Regions from separate parts of the Homo sapiens genome. Here all the other regions are linked to region 3. Evidence: promoter capture Hi-C in 16 types of primary human blood cells and fetal thymus (Javierre and others, 2016). All regions are on one chromosome and are shown on one strand. Each heading gives the region's core, a stretch centred on a gene start or on the middle of the fragment in contact. The rest is flanking DNA. Distances are from core to core; before and after follow the strand shown.

Evidence for each region. Contacts are between HindIII fragments. The CHiCAGO score rates a contact against its expected background, and 5 or more counts as called.
Region 1: a fragment that was not itself captured here is called in contact with the fragment with the promoter of SLC2A6 in region 3 in 1 of 17 cell types (total CD8 T cells); the score reaches 6.9 in total CD8 T cells.
Region 2: a contact is called between the fragment with the promoter of SARDH here and the fragment with the promoter of SLC2A6 in region 3, in 1 of 17 cell types (non-activated CD4 T cells). The highest score is 5.4, in non-activated CD4 T cells.

The regions. Positions count from the first base shown.
Region 1 is chr9:133,174,516-133,177,601 of GRCh38, forward strand. No RefSeq gene overlaps it. Among named protein-coding and RNA genes, the nearest start is that of GBGT1, 12 kb to the left of the region's middle. The HindIII fragment of the contact is 2,504 bases long and covers 194-2,697 here.
Region 2 is chr9:133,736,917-133,739,725 of GRCh38, forward strand. SARDH (sarcosine dehydrogenase) reads right to left here and starts at 1,436. Exons shown (of 21, transcript NM_001134707.2): 1 at 1,338-1,436. The HindIII fragment of the contact is 9,698 bases long and covers 1-2,809 here.
Region 3 is chr9:133,477,849-133,480,934 of GRCh38, forward strand. It overlaps SLC2A6 (solute carrier family 2 member 6), which reads right to left and starts at 1,251. Exons shown (of 10, transcript NM_017585.4): 1 at 1,120-1,251; 2 at 406-568. The coding sequence starts at 1,211. RefSeq lists enhancers at 781-840, 1,261-1,762 and a silencer at 1,001-1,650. The HindIII fragment of the contact is 7,664 bases long and covers 1-3,086 here.

The sequences.
Region 1 (3,086 bases), core at 196-2,695, 300 kb before region 3:
GGAAACCTACTAGAAGAATTATAAGGATTAGAAGCCCTTGGAAAACCCAAGCTTGCCATCCACCCTTAGGATGCCTGCAAACCGTTAGTTGCCTATTGTAAACATGTCATGGGCTCCTTTCTCTTGAGAGATGTCTTTAATGTATTTGGTGGCAGTGTCTAAGGAAACAGCAGTATCAGCACCTTTTAAATTAAGCTTCCTGTAATAACAAAATCAGGTAAGAGATAAGTAGTACAACATTCAGTTTTGTTTAACACCAAACCTAGGCTTCCAGCTTGAGCAAAAAGATCTGAGGTTGCACGATGTTCCAGTAAGTGTTTTTGCTGAATTCACGTGTTGTCATCTATCTTTTTTTTTTTTGAGATGGAGTCTCACTCTGTTGCCCAGGCTGGAGTGCAATGGCATTATCTTGGCTCACTGCAACCACCGCCTCCTGGGTTCAAGCGATTCTACTGCCTCAGCCTCCCAAGTAGCTGGGATTACAGGCATGAGCCACCATGCCTGGCTAATTTTTGTATTTTTAGTAGAGATGGGGTTTCACCATGTTGGCCAGGCTGGTCTCAAACTTCTGACCTCAAGAGATCTGCCCGCCTTGGCCTCCCAAATGCCGGGATTACAGGCGTGAGCCACCATGCCCAGCCCTGTCATCTATCTTTCTGAGAGCAGCTTCTACCCATCTGAAACCCTGGGAGGTCTGATTGATTACAAAATCCAAGATTTTTCCCAATTTACAAATTAGCTTTAAATTCCATACAACTGCTATCTCACTACCACCAAGAGTGCACCCCCAGGAATCCCACTGGAATCTTTCCTCAGTAGAAACGAGCTTATCCTCAAATATTTCAAGGCTAGTGCTAATTTCAGTTATTGATCATTTTGGCCTCCAATCATAAGGGCCATCATGAGAATTTTCAGGGGAAGCTATTTGAAAGGCAGGAGCAAGCCAGGCCACATAACAAGAACCCAACCAATGAGGAGGCAGAACAGGATACGCAGACTCTTCACAGACCCAGTATAGACCCTTGGGGATTGGAAAAGAGGGCCACCTAGTTGCATTTGAGCAGAGATCAGTCAGGTTTGTTCGACCACAAATCTGCATACCTCCTGAACAACGTCCAGTGGGAAATTTACTTTTCTGTGGCCCCTTTATAGCATGTTGTAAGGGTATATAACCATATCTAGTAAAAAAGAGACCCTACTGGATTTAATCCAGTTACATTATACAAGCAATCACTTGTATCAACATAAGTAATTCCCAAATCTTGAGTGCGTGATGTCTGGAAGCACAATGTATCTTTTGCTGGCATCACTTGGATTTTTTTTTTTGAGACGAAGTTTCGCTCTTGTTGCCCAGGCTGGAGTGGAGTGTAATGGCACGATCTTGGCTCACTGCAACCTCTGCCTCCCAGGTTCAAGTGATTCTCCTACCTCAGCCTCCCCAGTAGCTGGGATTATAGGCGCCTACCACCATGCCTGGCTAATTTTTGTATTTTTAGTAGAGATGGGGTTTTACCATGTTGGCCAGGCTGGTCTCAAACTCCTGACCTCAGTTGATCCACCTGCCTCAGCCTCCCAAAGTGCTGGGATTACAGACATGAGCCACTGCACCCAGCCTTGGATTGTTTTTTTATATTTGGTAATGATCGACTTATCAATTGAAAAAGTTAGAGTGTTGTTTTTAGTGAGTGTAGGAAGCAAGTAGCAGTGATGTTTAGCATATCAAGAATAACTTTCTGTTCTTCCCTTAGTTTCAGGTAGCTCTCGCTGGGAACGCGGAGGGGCACTGGCACCAGTGGAATCATTTCCTGATTTTTTTTTGGCATTAGCCCACAAACCCAACAATTACTCTGGTTTTGTGCTAGAGCATAAACTTGAGCTAAAGCCATCCACTGATTATGGTGCCATGGGTTTGCCTGTAGGGAAAAGGACAAGATTAGGGCAGAAGATGAGGAAAACAGAAAAACACATAAGGCTTTCCTGATGATAGAGAAGTCTTGGTCCATGATCTTGGGAAAGCTGTCCAAAACTAGGATGCTGTCTGCTTCTGAAGAGAGATTTCCTTGGTCAGCTTTACTTTAAAGTCTCCAACAGGTGTACAGTTCCAGGACTCTGAAGGGGCCCCTTTTTGTTTTTTTGAGACGGAGTCTTGCTCTGTTGCCCAGGCTGGAGTGCAGTGGCGCGATCTCGGCTCACTGCAAGCTCTGCCTCCCGGGTTCACACCATTCTCCTGCCTCAGTCTCCCGAGTAGCTGGTACTACAGGTGCCTGCCACCACGCCCGGCTAATTTTTTTGTATTTTTTAGTAGAGAGGGGGTTTCACCATGTTAGCCAAGATGGTCTCGATCTCCTGACCTTGTGATCCACCCACCTCGGCCTCCCGAAGGGCTGGGATTACAGACGTGAGCCACCACGCCCGGCCAAAAACATGCAAACTATTACAAGAACATACTGATACCCCATTGCGCGTCACAACTAAATTAAGTCCATCTGTAAATGCTCAAATTGTTCATCAGGTGGTGGAAATATATGACCTGAAGTTTTGATTGTTTTTCCAGGATTATGAGTTTGACAAGTCAAACATTGATTATAAACCATTTTAGCAATTTTGGAACAGTCACCCGACCAGTATTTTTTCATAATTTGGATCATTTTGTCTGTTCCATGATGAGCGGTGGAGTGCAGCGTTTTCAACAATGGAAGCTTCAAAGACTCAGGAAGGACCAGGCGGCCGTCTGGGCCCTCCGTGAGTCTGTGCATCACATTAAATTTACATCCTTTTAGATACCAATTTTGCTTTTCCAAATCAGGTGCACTGCACTGTTTACTAAGCAGGTCATCATAAGGAAGTGGGCTCGGCTTAATCCAATGGAGTTCATTCAGATTGCATTTCTTAACAGTTTCAGCACTAGCTGATTTAGCATAAAAATTTGCTAAAGCATTTCCCTGATATTTGGGTTCAGTTCTACAAGTATGAGCTTCAATCTTAGTAACAACAGTCTACAATGGTAACAGGATAGCAGAAAGGGGCTCATTTACTTGGGGTCTATTTTTGATGGAGGTCCCACTAGAGGTGAGAAACCCTCATAG
Region 2 (2,809 bases), core at 186-2,685, 260 kb after region 3:
AAGAGTGGACCATAGCTATGCACGTTCGTTCACTCTCATTGAACACCTATAGACACATGATAATGTCTCTACTTCACAGCGGGGGAGTCTGACACACGGAGAGGCTCCCTGAGGTGACCAGGGTCATAGGGCCTCCATGTGGCAGTGCCAGGGACTCTCTCCTGCCCCCTCTTCTGACCATCCCAGGGGGACTCAGGACCCACTGCCACACTCTGTCCCACCTGAACTGTGGGCACTGCCCAAGCCCTGACGAAGCCCAGAACCCTGTCCTAGGCACAGTGGGGGATGTGAGGGGGATCCCAGCTCTCAGGCTGGTCAGGGCTGCCCCCCATCTCCTGCCCCAGTGCCCCATCCCAAGGGAGGGAGCAGGGAGTCTGATTGCAGCGGCGTAGGGGAGTGAGGAGGTGTTGGAGCTTGTCCTCAGCCTCTCAGCCCTCAGTGTGTCAGCCCGCCTGGCTCCTGCCTGCAGAGGTGGCCCCGGACAAGGAGGCATGCCTCCTGCATGTGTCTGTACATACCTTCAGTCCTTGAAGGTCCACAGTCTTCCAGGAGCCCCCAAAAGTGGTGCCCCACCAGGGGAAAGCCAGCTTGAGTGGCACCGAGGAAGGCCCTCCAAGGCTGAACACCCCCACCCCACCACCCACCACCCACCACGGTGCCGCATGGCACAGCACACCTGGTCAGCTGTGGGCAAAAGCCTCCCTCCTCCTTCCGACTGTGCCCAAAAAGCGACAGCTGCTGGCGCCGGAGGCTGCCACGTGCCCCTTCACCACCTGCCTGGTCAGTCAGGGCTCTTCTGACTGTCAGACTGGGGGCTGGCAGCGGCCCCAGCGGGGACAGCCCAGAGCCCCTCCTGCCTGCCACCTCCCTGGAAACAGCTGCCTCCACATTAACCCACTCTCTTGCCCCCTCCAACTCTGTCTCGTACCTGAGTCAGCTTCCCAGGAGTGAGGGCTGAGGACAGCCCTGGGCTTGGGATCAGACAGATGGGTGGGGGTTTTGTCACAGGACTGGGGCCTCGAGCAACAACTTAACCTCACTGCAAAGCAGAGGACCCAGGAACGCCCTCCTCCTCCCAGGCTCAGGGGGTGGTGGGGGTCAAGCGAGGAGAGCGCCTGGCACCTTCGCCTGGTGAGGGTAGGCAGACTTGTGGGGAGGAGCGGCAGGGGGCGGGGAGGCAGCTGCCCATATGGTGAACCCTGGTCCTGCTCATGCAGCTGGATGGTCCCTGCAGCCAGAGGCAGAGGGAGATCCCAGCCAGATCTGACCAGGCCCAGCCCCGCCCACATAGGGGAGGCCCCAGCCTCGTCCCTCCCTGGGGGTGTACCTCCAAGTACCTCTTGTCAGCTGCAGTGCCCCTCGGCCCTAAGAGTGCTTGGCCCAGCAGAGGTGCCTTCACCTTCTTGCTTCCCAAGCAGTGGCCTGGCCGGAACTCCAGGCCTCCCCCGCCCCCCACCCTCGCTGCCAGCCCCATGTCTCCGCCCAGGATCTGGGCGGAGCGTACCGCCCACCACTGCGGCTTCTAGGCCAGCTTAGTTGGGGCTTCTAGGCCAGCCCTGTGGGCAGCTCCCTCTGAGGGCGGCAGAGCAGGGTTGTGAACCCCATGCCCCATTACCCGTAGGCGACCTGGCAGTCACCCTTCCGCTCCAACCCTCATTTCCTCGTCTCTGAAACAGGCGCCTCAGGGTTGCTGCAGTAGACCCAGGCACCACCTGCCTGCTGGAGCCGCCCGAGCTCCCCGCGCCCAGAAGGAGCTATGCACAGGCAGGGTGGGCAGGAAAGGTGGGGTCAGCAGCAGCTTGGGCCAGGGGCCCGTCCACTGCAGGGAGGCTCCTTTGGTGAGGTCATCTCAGCACATGCCCCAGTTTGCTCACCCCCAGGGACAGGATGCTCACTGCCTTCAGAGGCGAGTGAGAAGGCCTGGGTCAGCTTCCCAGGGACAGGGTCTCCTGGTCTGTCTGCGTCCTGCTTTCCCGAGCTCCCAGACCCCTCTGGTGTTTGGGGAGATGCCCCCAAGCCACTGGCTACTGCACAGCACGTAGCCCCCAGGGCAGGGATTCCAGCCTCCATTGACTGTTGGGGACAGCAGTGCCCAGGGAGGGGGCCACACAGCAAGCTGGTGGAGGAGGCAGACCGGATGCTGCAGCCTGACTCTGGGCTGGGGCAAGTTACCCCTTCCCAGACAGAAGTAGACACCCAGAGGAGGGGTGTGGAGGAAACCCAGAAAGAATACACCTCTGGATGCCCAAAGAATCAGAACAGGTGCTGATGGAAAGTCACATCTCCTCCTCGCGCTGGATCAAAGACGGGGCATTTCAATGGCAGTCTGTTAATATTGTAATGATGCCAGCTGCCAATACCGGAAGCGATCGTATAGTAAACTGCTGTAATTAATACCAATCAAATCATTGTGTTCTTATTCACACCGAGGATGTCCGACTGTCTTGTTGCCAGCTTGTCTATCCTCTACATTTACTGAATGCCCAATGTGTACAAAGCACTGCTGGGAAACCTATAGTGACATCTAAGACCCAGCCCCTGCCCTCGAGGGGCTCAGGGTCCACGAAGCAGACAGATCCAGGGAGAGACACGACACCACAAGGCTGGCTTCCTTCCAGCAGGGAATCCAGGAGGACCTCTTAGAGGAGGGGGCCTGGGCTCTGGGCCTGACCACGTGCTGACACCATTCTCAGTCCCTGCCTCAAAGGCAAAGGGCCCACTGGCTTAGGCCCCTGGCTGCCCAGTGGAAAGCTGGCCCCGCCAGTTTGAGGCTTACCTGGGGTGGTGTGGGGGTCCTGGGGCAGAGGAC
Region 3 (3,086 bases), core at 1-2,500:
CTCTGGGACTCTGGGATCTTCCTCTCCATCAGCCCACAATCTGTCCTGCGGACTCTCCTTGCCCCAGCCAGTGCCTCTCCCCACTGACACCTGATACCCTTGCCCCCATCCAGCCAACTGTGGGTGTGGGGACCCGGGGAAGCCTCAGCCCCACCTAGTATAGACCCTGACAGCCACCTCCCCACCTGCTCCTTCCCTCACCCTCTCCACTGGCTTTCAGTTCCTCATTTCAGAGGAATCCTGTAGCTTTACCCCACCCACTAGTGGCCTGGATGGCTGGGGGAGGGGGGACCAGGGCCCTGGAGGGACCCCCAAGGTGGAGAATTTGGGAGGTTCCTAGCTGGAGATAAGGCTCAGCAGGTCCCTCCTTCCTGCACCCACCCTCCTCCAGAGGATGGTCCTTACCCCAAACCAGGATGCCTGGGATTTGGTCAGATGCAGGTCAGGATCCAAGGAGCGCTCCAGGGCTGGGATGACAGGGGATGTGTAGACCAGGGCATACCCAAAGCTGAAATTGCCGAGCACTGCGGCGAAGGTGGCCAGGAACACCCTTTTGTTCTGCAGGGTCCTGGTGATGGTGGCGGACAAAAAGACCAGGGTCTCTGAGTCCCTCCTCCAGGGACCATTGCCTTTTCTGAACCCAGTGGCTGCCCGGCTCAGCGGGCAGTGCTAGGGAGGCCTGGGTCCAAGGCCATTCACGTTCCCAGGGCCTGAGCCCCAGCTCCCCTGGGAAATTCCCAGGCCATTGTTAGCTCATCCGCAGTGGCTGAGCCTCTGGTGCTGGGGCCTTTTCTCCGGAAGAGGAGGCTCTGGTTCTGCCCCCAGGGCGGCGGCTGGAGGCTTGCTGTGTGACCTCAGGCAGAACCCCTGCTCGCTGGGGCCTCAGTCTCACTGTCTGTGGCAGTGGGGGGCTGGGCCCGGTACTCTCGTGGATCGTTCCTTCCCTTAGGGGGACCAGTTCCTTAAATAGGAGTAGCGTGTCTGGGACAGGAGGGAGCCAGATGGCCCCTCGGTGGCGACTAGGTCAGGGGAGGCCCAGGGCGGGAGCCTGCCGCCGGCTGGAGGGAACCAGGGCCACCCCCAGGCCCCACCCGCAGCCCCCAACCTAGCGACTCTCACCCGACCCGCGCCCTGTCCCCTGGCGACGGGGGCGGCTTCTCGGGGAAGGTGTCGTAGTCCGGGCCCTCGGCTCCCAGCAGCGGCTCCTGCATGGCCGGGTCTCTCTCGGGGCGAGCGGAGGGCGCTCAGACTGGAGCAGCCGCCCGGGGCCAGCAGCTCCGAGGGCACCGGCCAGGCTCCGCCCCTTGGCCGCTATTGGCTGTGGGACGGCCCTGCAGAGACACGCCGGCCAATGGGGCGGCCGCAGGCTGTCCTGATGCTCGGATGCGGACCCGGCTTCCCCGGGCGCGGCCGGCACCGCGTGCGCCCCCGAAGGTCACGCCCCAAGACAGGATGGGGGTCCCAGGGCGGAGCCCCTGCTGGATCGTCCGGGGCCCCCGCGGAGCGCCGGAAGCGGCTCACCCGGCCCGGCTCTTGCAGGCGTGACTGCGGCAATGCGCGCAGCCCCTGTCGTACTCGCTCCCGCGGGGTGGAAACCGAGGCCCAGAGAGGCGAAGCCGAGCGCCAGGGTCACAGCGAATGCGCACCTCGCTCCTCCTTACGCTCTAGCCCTCCCCGTCGCGTGGCGTCTCAGGGCCACCTCTGCCCTGGCTCTCCCTGGCACCAGGGAATCGGGGTGTGTCAGGGCAGCAGCGGATGTGCGGGACGAAGGAGGCAGGAGGGGCCGGCGAGGCGCTGTGGGCAGCTCCAGTGGGCGAGGTCTGTATCCTCCACCCCAGGCTCTGGTGGTAGAAATAACCTGAGCTCGTGACACGTAACCCAGGTAGTAAGATAACATTGAAAAATAAGAAAAGCAGAAATGGAAAATTCCCGGGAAGACCGTCCTCAAAAAATCCCACAGCAGTTCCACCTCTCCCTTTGGGCCTTTTCGGGAAGAGGACGGAATCACGCCCTGCTCTGTTGGATGGACGTGCCACACACGCTTTTAAACGGAGCCTTTGTTGCTGAGTATTTGGGTCATTTCCCATTTTAGCTATTAACATGGTAAAGCATTTTTAAAAGTTAGAATTCCCTTTTATTATGATTGAAATACAACCATAATAGAACAATAAAATCACATCCATCTCCCGTCAGCCTGACCTTGATGGCGTTTTAGCCTCTTCCAGTCTTTTCCTCATGTGCCTATTTTGCATATTTGCTATTGGGGCCCCCATTAAACTGTGCAGCCCCTTTACGTCACCGTTTTCTTGCCATCAAGATCATAGGCTTTGGACTCAGGCACACCCTGGTATGGTGATCAGGCTGCACAGTCCTCGTGGCCATATATATACGTATATACATATATATGTGTATGTATTTTTACATATCTATATGTGTATTTTTTTTTTTTTTTTTGAGACGGAGTCTCGCTCTGTTGGCCAGGCTGGAGTGCAGTGGCACGATCTCAGCTTACTGCAACTTCCACCTCCCGAGTTCAAGCGATTCTCCTGCCTCAGCCTCCCAAGTAGCTGGGATTACAGGCATGTGCCACCACGCCCGGCTAATTTTTGTATTTTTAGTGGAGACGGGGTTTCACCATGTTGGCCAGCTTGGTCTTGAACTCCTGACCTTGTGATCCTTCCGCTTCAGCCTCACAAAGTGCTGGGATTACAGGCGTGAGTCACCGCACCCGGCCTTCTCTTTTTTTAAAATGTATTTTTTTTCTTTTAAAATCAACTTTAGGCCAGGTGCAGTGGTGTGTGCCTGTAATCCCAGCATTTAGGAGGCCAAGGTAGGAGAATTGCTTGATGCCAGGAGTCTGACACCAGCCTGGGCAACAAAGTGACCCTGTCTCTACAAAAAGCTAAAAAAGTTGTCCAGGTGTGATGGCAAGTGCCTGTGGCCCCAGCTACTCGGAAGGCAGAGGTGGGAAGATTGCTTGAGCCCAGGAGTTTGAGGCTGCGGTGAGCTGTGATCACACCACAGCACTCCAGCCTGGGTGACAGAGGGAGAGCCTTCTTGAAAAAATAAAATACAAGAAAAATCAA